Linked DNA regions of Homo sapiens: regions 1, 2, 3 and 5 are each linked to region 4. Evidence: promoter capture Hi-C in 16 types of primary human blood cells and fetal thymus (Javierre and others, 2016). All regions are on one chromosome and are shown on one strand. Each heading gives the region's core, a stretch centred on a gene start or on the middle of the fragment in contact. The rest is flanking DNA. Distances are from core to core; before and after follow the strand shown. Region 1 has its middle 7.5 kb from the start of DYNC1H1. Region 2 has its middle 16 kb from the start of LINC00618. Region 3 holds the start of HSP90AA1 (heat shock protein 90 alpha family class A member 1). Region 4 holds the start of SETD3 (SET domain containing 3, actin N3(tau)-histidine methyltransferase). Region 5 overlaps DYNC1H1 (dynein cytoplasmic 1 heavy chain 1).

Region 1 (2,762 bases), core at 214-2,713, 2.5 Mb after region 4:
GTTGGGCCGCATGCGAGCCGCGAGTTAGACAAGCTTGCTCTAGGTGGTTCCAGGCCTTCCTGCGTGCCCAGCTGGCGAGGCGGATGGAGGAGATTCTGCTGCTGCCTCTCCAGCAGTCCTGGGAGGAAAGGTCTCATGGAATTAAAGGAAACAGCTACGTTAATATCTGCCAGCGCCCGCTCGGAGCCGGGCCCAGCCCCACGTGCCAGGACAGCGGGCAGCTGCGGGCGCTGTGCGCTGGTGGGGACCTGAAAGCGTCCGGATGCGCTGGCCCCGCTGCTGCTGCGCGGGCGTCCCGGGCGGGCCCTTGGCAACCGGCTTTCTGCACTGGACGCTGCCGCCCAGAGAGCTGCTCATCGACGTTTGGGAGAGAGGGAGGGAATGTTTTAGGATTCCCAGCCCTTCGGCACGGGGAAAATGGAAGGAGAGGACCCGGCCCATGCCCCTTGGTGGCTCAAAGGCTCTAGACACGGTCGGCCTCCGGGTTTGAACCCCTCCTCCGCCTCCTGTTATCTCTGAGACTTCAGCAAGCTACTGCCCTTTCCAAACCTGTTCCTGACCTTCGCATTGCAGAGTTAATCCATCTGGTGGATCTGGGGATGCTGGAGGAAGCCGTTAGAAGCCCCCGGCGCGTGGTGAGGACGCAGCCGGAGACGCAGGCCTCTCCCTCCAGCAGTGGGGCGTGCCCACAAGTCCCCCCTCTCCAGTGTATGCAACAGCCTAGTGTCTGACCAGGCTCCCATTCCACGACTCCGCAATTCCACGGCCAGCACATCCCAGGATTCAGTTTCAGGGTTCTACCCCTTCCTGAGTCAGCTAAAGCGCAGCAGGGACATGCTCTGTCCGGGGAGAACGTGCTGGCCCAGGTCATCTGTCATCTGTCACACCAGTATCGACGCAAGAAAAGCATCAAGACTTTTTTTTGTCTTTCTTTTTTTGAGACAGCGTCTCACTCTGTCGCCTGGGCTGGTGTGGTGTGATCAGGGTTCACTGCAGCCTCGACCTCCCGGTGCCCAAGCGATCCTCCCAGCTCAGCCTCCCAAGTGGCTGGGACCACAGGCCCATACCACCATGCCCAGCTTATTTTTCGTAGAGATGGGGTTTCACTTTGTTGCTCCGGCTGGTCTCCAGCTCCTGGTCTCAAGGGACCTTCCCTCCTCAGCCTCCCTAAGTGCTAGGATTACAGGCATGAGCCACCGTGCCTGGTCCCTGCCCAAGCATTTAAGCAAATTTAATTTTATTCAGAAGCCTTACTGAAGCCTGGAGGCTGAAGAATACAGGCCAGAAGTCTTTGAGAGAGGTACTGTCAGAGTGCTCCAGAACAGCATTTCAGATCGCTTATATCCAGGTAGTGGAGGTTTAGTGCATGCAAAATCACATCAAAGTCTGGGTACAAGAGTACATCTGGTTGTAGGCCAGGCATGGTGGCTCATGCCTGTAATCCCAGCACTTTGAGAGGTTGAGGTGGGCAGATCACAAGGTCAGGAGTTTGAGACCAGCCTGGCCAACATGGTGAAACCCTGTCTCTACTAAACATACAAAAAGTAGGCTGGGCGCTGTGGCTCACGCCTGTAATCCCAGCACTTTGGGAGGCCGAGGTAGGCAGATCATAAGGTCAGGAGTTTGAGACCAGCCTGGCCAACATGGTAAAACCCCGTCTCCACTAAAAATATAAAAGTTAGCCGGGAGTGGTGGCGGGTGCCTGTAATCCCAGCTACTTGGGAGGCTGAGGCAGGAGAATCACTTGAAACCCAGAAGGTGGAGGCAGCAGTGAGCTGAGATCGCACCACTGCACTCTAGCCTGGGCAAAAGAGCGAAACTCCGTCTAAAAAAAAAATACAAAAATTAGCTGGGTGTGGTGGCTCATGCCTATAGTCCTAGCTACTCGGGAGGCTGAGGCAGGAGGATCGCTTGAACCCGGAGGTGAAAGTTGCAGTGAGCTGAGATTGTGCCACTGCACTCCAGCCTGAGTGACAGAGTGAGACTCCATCTCAAAAAAAAAAAAAAAAGAGAGAGAGTACATCTGGTTATAGATTGTAGATTTATAACCACATCAGGTTATAATCAGCACTAACCCCGTCATATGTTATCTTATGTACAGGAAAAGGCAAGGCTACGGCCATTTATCTTTTAAGGAACATATTGACTCCAGCAAGACACGTGGGCTGTGTGCTCTGTCCTGTTTTGTCTTCAGAGCATCTTTCCAGAGAGCTACACGTGGTCACAGAGGCAGGGCTTTGTGAAATTACATTGACAAGCAGAACTGAGCACACATGGCTTCTTACGCTTGCTACTTTGCCTCACACCGGTTACCCTGGCCCTCTGGTCCCACACTTCTCCTGGCCTCAATGGGTAGGAGGGCCTCTTTGGCCAGCCTGCCTGGGGTCTTGTCACCTGGGTGCCAGCTCCCACTTCCCCAGCATTGCTCTCTAGGGGCCGGTGGGCAGCAGGACCCCCTCACCTGCCTCTCCTCACCCCAGCCTGGAGAGTCTTCTTGTGGCTCTGTCACCTCCTGCTTCCCCAGCATGCTTTGCCTACATGGGAGATTCTAACTTTCCCCTTTCTCCCCCATATGCCCTTTTACTCTCAAGGGCTAGGACTTTTGGGAAAAAAAAAAAAAAAAAAAAAAAAAAAAGCCTGAAAGACCAATAGGCACCTTCTGCTTTCAGTCCTAGAACCACAGACCAAGCTAGGCTCCTGCACGAATGGGGAGGCAGAATGTGAAATGGAGGGAGAAAATCAGTCAATATAGGCAGTTCCAG
Region 2 (3,019 bases), core at 519-3,018, 2.5 Mb before region 4:
TTCTGAGTGCTTTCTGCAGATCACCTTGATTGTGCCTGCATGTCTGTGCCAAATGCTGGACACGCATCTCAAAGTGGGCATAGCCTCTCCCCACCTTTTGTTCCTGCTGAGTAAACTGAGGCCCGAGGTTCTCGCAGCTAGCAAGTGCTGGCTCCTGGATTTGCCTTGGGGGCCTGCCTGGCTTTCATGCCTGGCCTCGGGCTCCACGTGCTGCTGCCCCTCAAAGTCCCCTCCCACAGGGCAGGGAGTCTAGGGTGTTCCTGCCTTCCAAAACCTAAGTTTATCCCCTGGGGGAGGTAGCAGAGCCCACTTGGTGGGCACATGAGCCCTGGGGGCAGCCTGCTTGGTCCAAATCCCAGCTCTGCCACTCACCTGTCGAGAGCCTTGGTGAGTTGCTCAACATCTCTGTGCCTCAGTTTCCTCAGCTTTAAAATAGATGCAATGCTAGGCCTGTTGCTGTGGTTGCTATGGACACTGAATGAGACAACATGTTGATGCGCTTATACGCTTAAACATACAGGAAACGTTAACCTCTCACTATGATACCCAGCACCGCTGAAGGCGGCAGCTAGAGAGGATGGAGCCTGGACTTTGGAGACGGGTCCTGGCATTGCACAAATTGCACATCCTCTCTGGATCTCAGTTTCCTCACCTGCAAAACAGGTGTGAGAATCTCTACCTGGAGTTACTTCGTCATTCAGCACATGTGTGGGGGCTTGTGATGGGCTAGCCCATGTTGGGTGTCAGGGATTCCACAACAAACCCATCCCTGTTCCTAAGAAGCTTGGAGGCAAGCTCAGAGGTACTTAATCTGGGGTCTGTGGGTCCCAAGGCTGTCCACAGTAGGCTTCAGGGGGCTCTACAAACCCCCCAGGCATGTAAGAAATAGGTCTGGGGCTTTCACTGGATCTTTGAGAGGCCCTGGGCAGAGAGGAGAGCTGTGTCAAATTCTGGATCTTGGTGCTTGGGGGAGCCTAGCCTTTACACCTGCCTGTGCTGGAAGGCCGGGCTGCTCACCTTCTCCAACCCAGGGCTGGTATCAGGCTGCTGGACCAGCCTTGCCCAGTGCCATGGTTCCCCATCAGGGCCCTTGGGGATCCAGTCCTGAGTGCAGGGTAGAAGCGGGCATGGGCCTCTGTGCAGGTGAGTCCACATTTCCCTGGATTCAGCCCACACAGCCTGCCCTCCTCACCACAGCCTCAGAAAGAGCTTGGGGGAAAAACACATTCCTAAATAAATATGGGCAGAAAAAATAATACAGAAAGTTCTTGCCTTGTCCAGGACTTTTGACAGGACTGGTCTGCCTGGCTCTGGGCTCTCTCTGTCTCTCCCAATTACTGCCTCTGCCTTCCACATGTTGCCATGGGAGCGCTAAGTCAACTCACCATCAGCAGCTGTTGCTGGAAAGTTCCTAGCATCCATGTTTCAGCCCCTCTCAGTGCTCTGGGGGCATGCAGCTATGAGGACTCAGGTCCTTCCTCTGGAAAATTTCACATCTTCCCACAGCGCAGAGGGGAGGGGTGGAATGGCCAAAGCATGTGGGCTTTGGGGTCAGACTGCAGGGTTCCAATCCTGGTTCTACTTCTGTAGCTCAGCCAGGTCATTTAAACTTGCTAAGCCTCAGTTTCCTCATCTGTAAAATGGGAACAGTGATAGAACTGACCTTGGACAATGCTGAGGCTGGACAGTGGCATGATGCATGTAAAGTGCCTGGTCCATTGTCAGCACTCAATCAACCTGGTTGTTACTATTACCACCACCATTGGGCCTGGGAAGGCAAAGGAGGTGTTTTCCTCTACACAGAGGGTGGTATGTAGGAGAAAGACTGAGACCAGTGCTATGAGATGGAGTGAATCAAGAAGGCTGAGTTCTCACAGGGTGTTTTGGCTGAGTTACTGCCTCCCTGTAGGCCTCAGTTTTTGCATTTGTTTAGCGGGCCACATACTTCATTAGAGGCTTCCTAGGTCTGCTCCTTAGATGCTTAGAGAAGTGTTGATCTGGGAGCACACTGCTGGATTTGCAGTCAGAGGACACTTACTTCAGCTTCAGGGACAGGTTGCTGAGAGAATAGAATCCAGCTTGGCTATGTGAGTTGCATGGCCTCACCCCAACCTGGCAAGGGTCCAGTCCTGCTCTTCTCTGGCCCTTCCCCTCAACAGTCTAGTCCTGCCCTGATGCCCTCCCTCTCAGCACCCATCAGGTGCCTCATCCTCCAATGATTTGCTCCAATTGCAGCTCCTCCTAGAAGCCTTCTGTATCAGCTAGGGCCCAACCAGGAGATGGAGCCATGCCTGTTAGTCCAACAGAGCAAATCTAACATAAAGTAGTGGTCTATTGCATACCCATTAGAATAACTATTACCAGCAAAACAGGAAGTTACAAATGTTGGCAAGGAAGTGGGGAAATTGGAGCCGTTGTACCTTGCTGGTAGGAATGTAAAATGGTGCAGCCTCTGTGGAAGATATTATGGTGGTTCCTCAAAAAATTAAATATAGAATTAGCTGATGAACCAGCAATTCCATTTCTTGGTATACATCCGAAATAATTGAAGGCAGGGTGTTAAAGCAATATTTGCACACCCATGTTCATAGCAGCATTATTCAAAACAGGCAAAAGGTGGAATCAACCCAAGGGTCCATCAATGGATGAATGGACAAAGAAAATGTGTTATATACATAGAGTGGGATATTATTCAGAAATATTATTTCTTTCCTTGAAAAGGAAGGAAATTCTGACACATGCTGTGACATGAATGAAGCTTGGAGACATACGAGAAAAATAATCTAGACACAAAAGGACAGATACTGTATGATTCCTTATATGAGGTTCCTAGAGCAGCCAAACTTGTAGAGACAGAAAGTAGAACAGTGATTGCCAGGGTAGGGGAGAGGGAATACAGAGTTGTTGTTTAATGGGTACAGAGTTTCAGTTTTGCAAGATGAAAAAGTTCTGAAGATTGGCCGGGCATGGTGGCTCATGCCTGTAATCCCAGCACGTTGGGAGGCCGAGGCAGGTGGAT
Region 3 (3,100 bases), core at 344-2,843, 2.6 Mb after region 4:
ATCTGGTCCGGCCCCCACAGCCTCCGCCCCGCGCCAGCCGCCCCCAGTCCCGGTCCCCAGTCCACCTCCACAGGCCCCCACAACCACCCGTCACCTTGGCTAAGTGACCGCACAGGACCAACGGCACAGCCACACCGGGACGCTGAAGCAACTGACGCGCCACCCCCGCGCCTGCCTTATATAGCGACGGGCCCGCCCAGCGCGCGGCGCTTTTTCCAGAAGCCTCCCGAACCTTCCGGAAGAACCCTCCCCAGCCGCCGCCGCGGCCGCGCGCCTACGCATGCGCCGTTGCCGCGGCACCCCGCCCCCGCGCCTTCCTGCGGGCGCGCGCAGGCCCTGCTCGTGGCCCGGCCCGGGCAACCTTCCCTCAATCGCCGCCGCGCGCCTCTCGCACGCCCCCGCGCCGGCCTCAATGCGCCTGCGCGGCCCGGAATTCTCGGGAAGGTCCGGGCGCCTTCTGGGGCCGCCCGCGCCCTCCGCCCTGCACCCCCACCTGCCGCGGGCGGGCGGAGGGCACGCCCGGGCGTGGGGGCCTTTGAAGTGAGGTGTAGTTGGTCACCCGGGCTGAGCGGAACGCGGGGCCGGGGTGGGAGGCGCGCCTGGAGGGAGGGTCGTGCGTGGACGGAGAGCGGCCCGGGTCTCACGCGCCCGGGAGACTTCCGGAGCCGTCGTCCTGACTGGCGCCGCGCCCGCTGCCAAAGAATCCAGCCGCAAGCGGCGCCGGGATCGCGGGGCTCTGCCCTCTGGGGGCTGTTAGCCTCAGGCTGCTGCGCACTGGGGAGGCTGTCCCGCGGCCTGCGCGCTCGGGGATTCTCCAGACCCACCGCTGGCTCGGGAGCGCTCCCTACTTTTGGGTTCCCCGAAAGCCATGTGCTTCATACTTAAGGGTCCCTTAGCTTGGGAATCGGGGACTTGGTGAACAAATTCATGCTTACCCAGCTACACCCGGCATGATTTTGAAAAGCCCATCGTTTTGCCGACCGATTTGCGGTCTCCAAATTAAGTATCTAACACTTTGGTGATTAACTTGCCCTAAAAGGTTTTTTTTTTTTTTTTTTTCTTTTTTTTTTTTTTGGACAGGCTCTCGCTTTGTCGCCCAGGCTGGGGTGCCGCGGCGGAATCTCGGCTCACTGCAGCCTCGACCCTCCCGGGCTCAGGTGATCCTCCCGCCTCAGCTTTCCCAGTAGCTGGGACGAGCGTGGGCAGAGGACCACAGGCGCGGACACCACACCTGTCTAGTTTTTGTATTTATTTGTAGAGTCGGGGTTTCACCATGTTGCCCAGGCTGGAAAAGCCAGTTTCTACATGGGAATTTTCGGATATTTTGGCCAAGGCCAGCTGTGGGAACCTTGGAGGCATTGGGGTTCCTTCGACCTGGCTTCCCTGCCTAGTCCATGTCCTCTTCCTCTTTGTCTCTGGCGCCTCCCATGATTGGGCCGCCTCCTGCCTAGACTCATAGCCAGGCCCTCGGAATAATCTGAAAGCTCCTTGCCGTGTAAAGAAACGATGGAACTACCTCCGCTTCCTGGTCTTTAGGGAAACGCAACTTGCTCAGGAGCAGGGGTTTTCAGACTGCGGCCTGGGACCCCCTTAAGAGCGTGTGAAATCAACATAAAGCGTCTTGCCTGGCATTACAAAGCGGGGGAAGTGGAAGGAAACTAGCAGCCACGTGGCGCGGGCCCCAGCGGTGGTGACCGGGTGTGTGCCTGGTCCTGTGGTAGCTGTTGCGCAGCCTGGGGGCGCGCCCCCGGCCCAGGCTTTCCTACAGCTGCAGCCTGGACTGGCGGGGAGGAATCCGGAAGCAGGAAGAGCGGTGAGCGGGTCGCTGAAGGGGCGCAAGGTCTTCCCTGGCGACTGCCGCCTTTGCCTGTTTCCTTCCTGTCACCACCAGCCACTGTCCCCGCTCTCCTCACTTGTAGGAACTTTTCCTACCGCAGTTTCTGCCATTGCCCAGGGGGTTTGAGATATAGAGGAGCCATCCAGGGCCCTAACTCTGACGTTCTTTTTTTTCTTTTCTTTTTTTTTTTTTTTTAGACAAAGTCTCACTCTTGGTCCCCCAGGCTCGAGGGCAATGGCACAATCTCTGCTCACTGCAACCTGCTCACTGCAACCTCTACCTCCTGGGTTCAAGCGATTCTCCTGCCTTAGCCTCCCGAGTAGCTGGGATTACAGGCACCCACCACTACGCCCGGCTAATTTTTGTATTTTTAGTAGAGACGGGGTTTCACCATGTTGGCCAGGCTGGTCTCGAACCCGTGACCTCAGGTGATCCGCCCGCCTCGGCCTCCCAAAGTGCTGGGATTACAGGCGTGAGCCACGGCGCCCGGCCAGCTCTGACATTCTTTGTCCTTTGTTTTGGGGACCTTCATTTACCCCCATTTCTCCAGTGAACCTGCTCCAAAGCCCCTCCCTGGGTCTGGGCATCACTGGGAACCACTGTTTCCCGTCAGGCCCCATCTTTAATGTCCCTTCTTCCTTCCACAACTTCTTGTCTTTCCAGCTCTCCCCCCTCGGTTAATAAACAGGACATTTTTGTCCTGTCTCCAGGTGACATTCCACAGTTACCCACCAGGTGCGAACTCTGTAATGGTTTCTACCATCAACACGCCAGCCCCTGGCTGTTCCTTCTCTCTTCTCAGACTCATGCCCCTCTCCCTGGCACATCACGGAGCTCTTGGAGGTGGGTCTTTGCCCCCAGGAAATCTTGTCCAGCACTCTCACTAATAGAACTTGTGTGCAGATGACTCACGGAAGAGCCCGGCCAGGACTCAGCTCCAGACCTGGATGCTGAGCCTCATGAGCTTCCCCCCTGTCTCCAGCCCTCTTTGAGGGCTCGTTAGCCAGGTCACTGACTATCCCACCTTAAAGAACCCCAAGCATCCCCACAACGGATCTGGCACTGAGTCCTGCCACTTCTGCCTCCTAAGTACCTCTTGAACCCAGCCACTTCCCTCCACCTTCATCCCCCGCTTCCACACAACCGTCAGCTCACCTGGAAGGCCTCCATAACCACCTAACTGCTCCCTGCATATGGTCTGGTCTGTCTCCAAACTGTAGCCAGGGTGAGCTTTGAGAACACAGACCTGGCCCTATCTATTCC
Region 4 (2,731 bases), core at 34-2,533:
GGTCATTTCAAGAAGAAAAACGGGAGAGGGAGAGGTATATTTTACATAAGATAAAATTCACACTTTTCAGTGTCCGGTTCTGAGTTCTGACAAACGCATTTATAGTGGCCTCATCAGCACCACAATCAGGCTACGAAGATGGGGTAACTCTTCGAGGATTCTTAAAAGCAAAATTGATTTGTCAGCATACTTTAAAAGTATTTTTGCTTTTGAAACATCACCTTATTTATTTAGAAAAGCAAAATAACACGGTCCGAGTGGTCCTAACCCGCGAATGCCTTTGCAACACTGAAATGCCCTCCTCCCAACACCGGCCGGGCAGGGGTGAGCCCCGCAGCCAGGGGCGCGCGTCACTGTCAGCTCCTTTTCCCAAGTGGAGACCGGGAAAAGACAAGAGTTGCATCGCCGGGCTGGAGCCACGAGGAGGAAGAGTTAACGCCGGAATGACAAACTCTAAAGCACCGAATTGCCTCTCCCTAGTAGGGCACTGCGCGTGTGGAGCACGGCCAGGGGCGCGTGGGAAGAAAGACGACCTATTTCCTACGTCCGTCTTCCTAACTGGACGGCGCGGGAGGAGGCGGGGGCTGGTCCCCGGGCACCCTGGTGGGCACCGAGAACTCGCAGAGAGGAACATAAAACCGCACAGCCTTCCCCGAGCAGCGGGGTGACGGGAGGAAGGAAGGAAATGGGAGCGCGACCCGGCCGCGCGCAGAGCCGAGCCGACTAGCGCGAGGGGCCCGGGCCCCACCCGAGAGCAGGCGCGAGGGCCGGGGACAGCGGGGCAAGCTCGGGGAGAGCGCTGCCTGCACCTGGCACCACCTCGAGACCGGGTGGCGCGGGGCCCGGGAGCGTGGGCGCCAGAGGGGACAGGGCAGCGGCGAGCGCGCGCCTCTCGCCCCGCAGGGCGCCCGGGCAGAGGCCGACCGGCGCCCTCCGACCCCGCCGGGCCCTCCTCGCCCTGGCCCCCGAGCGCACACCTGCCCCTTCAAGCCCCGGGGCCACAGCGGCCGGCGGGGACCCTGGCGGGGGCGCGGGCCGGACTTCGGCCGAGGGGCGCTGGCCAGGGCGAGGGACGGCCTCGCAGAGCTCGGAGACGCGGCGCGAGTTTCCCCCGCGGGCCGCGCGGGCGCAGAGACCGCCGCCAGCACTCACCTGCCCGCTTCCCCTAGCGCAGCGGGAACGACGTACTCCGGCCCGGACCCCGCCGTCCGCCTCAACCAACCCCCAGGCGGTGGCGGCGGTGGCGGCGGCGGCGGCCGGACGGGAGGGGCGGGACGGCAGCCTGAGACGGCCCCGCGACCGCGGCCCAACGCTTCTCCTCCCGCCCCGGACCCCGCCCCCGGGCCGCAGCCGCCGCCGTTCATTGGCCCACGCTTCGGACGCATGGGCGCGGCCCCGCCCCGCCACCCAGCCGGCGTTCCGTTCGGGGTCCTCCCCAGCCAGTGGGCTGGCAGCTCCCGGGGGCAAGAGCGGCCGGCTCAGCCGCCGCCAACCACGATGTCGCAACTGGCTGCGTTCGCCCCCGCCAGAGCTTTGATTGGACGAATCTCGACCCGGGCCCCGCCTACGCGCCCAAGTTCCGTTAGCAGGTTCGGTTGCTCCAGAATGCCTTTTCGCCCCGAGGGGCGGGACCGACGGGATGGGCCCTGTGGCTGGCTCCTCCCTCTGTAAGCAGCAGCCACTGACCCGCGGGGCGGGCGGGGAGGAGAGCGGCGGCTCGTTCCTCTTTTGAGAGCTCTGCTTTCTTCCCATTGGTTGACAGGCATCCTACTCTCTCCGCCCCTCCGGTCGCTTGGTGGCGTCTCAGGACGCAGCGTGATGACGTAGGTCCCCGACATTCCATATACAAGATGGCCGCAGTCGGCAAGGAGAGACGTCGCTGAGGGGCTTGCCTGAAGCGAGGGGTGAGTGACCCACCGACTGAGGGCAGCGCCGCCCACCTCCCGCGTATCTGGAGGTCGGAGTAGGTTATGGCCAACCGCCGCTATCCACTGGCGGAGTCTCTCTTTCCGGATTCTGCCTCCCTCCGCTAACCTCCGGTACACATTGAACTTTGCGGGCGACGCGGGGTTGTGGGGCGGGCGTGTAGAGAGGGTCTGAGGCGCCGGGGCGGGGCAGGGAGGCCGGACTCACCCTAGAACTGGTAGCGGCCCTCGCACTGGGGGGCAGTCAGAGTTGGGGAACTTTCTAGGGGTTGGGCAAAAGGGGCAGCGGTGTTAACCGCGCACAGTCTCACAGCCACAGACTTCTCATATCTCCCCGATTATTTCGCGGCGTATTAGTCCCAACCTTGGCTAGGCCTGAAACTTTTTGGAGGTTGTTCCATGTCTAGGGTACTCCGACTTTGGAGTTTTGGAGAGCCACGTAACGAGGGTGCGGCTAAGATGAGGAAAAGGCACTTCCGGGATTAGATTTCGTTCTTGCCCAGACATCGTCTTTACGGACCCGCTCCTGGTGGTTGATTTGGTTTGTTATGAGAGAAATTGTTCTTTAGAAAATTGGAGCGTAAGTCTAGAGGTTATGTGACAGCTCCTAAACGATTGTCTGCCCAAGATAGGCTCGGTAATGCTCCCTAAATTTAGACTGCCAGTTAAACGGAGCTTTCGCTAAGTCATCTGAGGTTAGGAACTATTTCTAAGAGCATTTCTTAAGGGTGGTCTTCTGTGTTTTTAAGAGAAACTTGGTGATGTTTGTGTATCTCGATCTAAATCGCTGTTTACAGATACCTAGC
Region 5 (3,014 bases), core at 64-2,563, 2.5 Mb after region 4:
GTATTACTTAATCAAACGTGCAGATTGTGTTTGTAGTAAGCTTATAAATATAACAGGGCTAATAGCCTCTTTGTTATTAAGAATTAATAATCAAGTGTCCTTCCTCCTCTGGACAACTATTTAAAAAAAAAAAAAAGAAAGAAAAGTAGAATGTCAGATTATTATTTGATGGCAGTTTTTGAAACAGTGTCCTAAATTGTGTGACTGTAAATGGGAGTCAGACATACTCAACTGTGTTTGATCCGTGTCTTTATAGGGAATATGCACAGAAAGACTAGTCCAAGATGTTTTCTGTGACTGGTTCGTAGTGACTTCCATAAGTTATTATCAAGAGAAGTTAGAATTTAGCAAAGCAGCAGGGAATATCTATTTGCATTATCGTTGTTTGAGGATTATGTCATTGGGTGTGCCTTCCTGAGCTGAAGCAGCATTCTACTGCATTGCAGTATTCCCAGGGCAGAGCTGGAGCGCTCACCACACAGCGGTGACTCATCTCTTGGAATGGCACCTAGTTCCCCTAACCCGGTTTGCATTAGGAAGTGTAGGCCACATGCTCATATGCTGTGTCCGGACTGCGCAATTTCTGTGTGATTTTATTTGTATCAATGATGACTCTTTATGGGGGGTAGAAATGATTCAGAGTTAACAAGCCATATTTTTAGTTGCGTCAGTGATTTCCTTTGATCATTATAGAATGTTAATTTTATTTTCTGTATATTGTTTCGGTGTTATTTTGATGGCATATTTTATATAAATGGTAGAACAATATGGAAAATTCAGAAAATTGAGGGAGAAAATCATCGCAGTACTTTGACAGCTGTTTCAGTTTGGAGATAGTTCTTTATTCTCTATGCTTACATTTTACAGGTTGTAATCGTGTGTGGCTGCTTTCAGGCAGTGTGATTTCTCTTGTGGTCTAGCTACATTTGAGTGGTTAGAAAAATTGGTTGCTTTCTTTAGTTTTTTTAATAGTCGTTTTAAAAAATAGCAAGTATCTGGCATACTAGAATGTTCTGCCGCCTACTCCTTCCTCTTCCTAAAATTATATCCAAATATACCCAAAACAATAATTTGGAAGAATTATTGTCTCTCGATAGATACACTAATTTTTTTTTTTTTTTTGAGATCAATCTCAGCTCACTGCAACCTCCACCTCCCAGGTTGAAGCAATTCTCTTACCCCAACCTCCCAAATAACTGAAATTACAGGTGCCAACCACCACACCCAGCTAATTTTTTTAATTTTTAGTAGGTATAGGGTTTCACCATGTTGGCCAGGCTGGTATTGAACTCCTGACTTGAAGTGATCTGCCCGCCTCGGCCTCCCAAAGTGCTGAGATTACAGGCATGAGCCACCGCGCCTGGCCAGATAGACTAATATTTTATACTCTTTAGTGTGAATTTTGTATTTGTCTCATCTTAAAACTAAGGAAGCAGGGGTTGGGCGCAATGACTCATGCCTGTAGTGCCAGGCCGAGGCATGAGGATCTCTTGAGCCCCAGGAGTTTGACACCAGCCTGAGCAACATAGAGAGACCCCATCTCTAAAAAATGTTTTAAAAATCCACTGAAGGTGGTGGCATGAGCGTGGGGTCCCAGCTCTTTGGGAGGCTGAGGCAGGAGGATCTCTTGAACCCAGAAGATCAAGACTACAGTGAGGTGTGATGAAGCCACTGCGTTCCAGCCTGGGCGGCAGAGCAAGACATTGTCTCTAAATAAATAAATTAATTAATTAAAATAAAATGCTTACAGAAGGAGCAAGATTTTTAAAACAATAGCTAAGGAAGCAAATAGCTTTTGCTCAGACCCTGTGTATCCAGGTTTCATAGTTTTTAGTGCTTAATGAAACCTTATAACCACCTAACTCAATATTCTACTGCCTGCTCCACCACCCATTTTACACCTTACAAATTTGAAGCCCAGAGAAAGAAAAATGACTTTCTCAAGGTCACATATCTTCTAAGCAATAGAACTTGAACTGTTGAAACTACTGCCCTTTCCTTTATTTATTTATTTATTTTTTTTGAGATGGAGTTTCACTCTTGTTGCCCAGGCTGGAGTGCAATGGCGTGATCTCAACTCACCACAACCTCCGCCTCCTGGGTTCAAGCGATTCGCCTGCCTCAGCTTCCCGAGTAGCTGGAATTACAGGCATGCGCCACCATGCCTGGCTAATTTTGTATTTTTAGCAGAGACGGGGTTTCTCCTTGTTTGTCAGGCTGGTCTCGAACTCTCTACCTCAGGTGATCCACCTGCCTTGGCCTCCCAAAGTGCTGGGATTGCAGGCATGCGCCATCACGCCCAGCCTTCCCTTTCTATTACATCATGACTTTTAAAAGGTGAACTATGTATAAAATAATCATGTTAAATTAATCCATAGATTGTAATTTTTGCCAACATATATTTCATACAGTACGTTATTGCAAAGATAATTTGACTAGAATGTTTAGGCATTGCATGGATTAGTACTAGATGTAGAGGTTTAGATTATTTTCTATTCTTATACTTTTTTTAGTTCTTCAATCTTGATTTTTAATTTAGAAATTTGGTTCACATGCTTCTTGAGGCTACCTTACTATTAATTTCCAGTAAGCTTTTTTAAACTTAAATTTTATTATTAAAAAATTGAGACATGGTTTCACCATGTTGCCCAGACTAGTCTCATACTCCTGAGCTGAAGTGGTCCACACCTCAGCCTCCCAAAGTGCTGGGATTACTGACGTAAGCCACCAGCCCGGCCTCCGTAAGCTTTTGAAAGTGACTACTGTGTGCATGTTGTATTGCGTGGAATCTAGCGTGGTCTCTGCCTTCCAAGAGCTCACAGCCGGGGAGGAAGATACATTCATAAGTCAAACCCAGAACAGACTCAGATAAGTGGTGTGGCGCAGCAGAGGGCAAGGCTAGACGAATGCTTCTCAGTGACCCTTGGGATGTTTCTTGATACTTTTCTTGATTGGGGTTTGTCTTGGGCCTGGCCTTGATGAAAACTGGCCATGCTACATTGTGGTGAGGAGCC

The links. The method cuts DNA at HindIII sites, captures the fragments that hold promoters and counts their contacts. A CHiCAGO score of 5 or more calls a contact.
Region 1: a fragment that was not itself captured here is called in contact with the fragment with the promoter of SETD3 in region 4 in 1 of 17 cell types (neutrophils); the score reaches 6.5 in neutrophils.
Region 2: a contact is called between a fragment that was not itself captured here and the fragment with the promoter of SETD3 in region 4, in 1 of 17 cell types (naive CD4 T cells). The highest score is 5.8, in naive CD4 T cells.
Region 3: a fragment that was not itself captured here is called in contact with the fragment with the promoter of SETD3 in region 4 in 1 of 17 cell types (neutrophils); the score reaches 11.8 in neutrophils.
Region 5: a contact is called between a fragment that was not itself captured here and the fragment with the promoter of SETD3 in region 4, in 1 of 17 cell types (neutrophils). The highest score is 6.5, in neutrophils.

The regions. Positions count from the first base shown.
Region 1 is chr14:101,955,658-101,958,419 of GRCh38, forward strand. No RefSeq gene overlaps it. Among named protein-coding and RNA genes, the nearest start is that of DYNC1H1, 7.5 kb to the right of the region's middle. The HindIII fragment of the contact is 2,864 bases long and covers 32-2,762 here.
Region 2 is chr14:96,958,522-96,961,540 of GRCh38, forward strand. No RefSeq gene overlaps it. Among named protein-coding and RNA genes, the nearest start is that of LINC00618, 16 kb to the left of the region's middle. The HindIII fragment of the contact is 1,975 bases long and covers 782-2,756 here.
Region 3 is chr14:102,086,892-102,089,991 of GRCh38, forward strand. It overlaps HSP90AA1 (heat shock protein 90 alpha family class A member 1), which reads right to left and starts at 153. Exons shown (of 11, transcript NM_005348.4): 1 at 95-153. RefSeq lists silencers at 1-30, 71-600, 661-710. The HindIII fragment of the contact is 4,777 bases long and covers 1-3,100 here.
Region 4 is chr14:99,479,576-99,482,306 of GRCh38, forward strand. SETD3 (SET domain containing 3, actin N3(tau)-histidine methyltransferase) reads right to left here and starts at 1,284. Exons shown (of 13, transcript NM_032233.3): 1 at 1,153-1,284. It overlaps CCNK (cyclin K), which reads left to right and starts at 1,834. Exons shown (of 11, transcript NM_001099402.2): 1 at 1,834-1,904. RefSeq lists enhancers at 415-916, 1,725-2,094 and silencers at 765-964, 1,075-1,534. The HindIII fragment of the contact is 7,554 bases long and covers 1-2,731 here.
Region 5 is chr14:101,972,094-101,975,107 of GRCh38, forward strand. The region is part of intron 1 of DYNC1H1 (dynein cytoplasmic 1 heavy chain 1); the gene reads left to right. Among named protein-coding and RNA genes, the nearest start is that of DYNC1H1, 9.0 kb to the left of the region's middle. The HindIII fragment of the contact is 2,551 bases long and covers 39-2,589 here.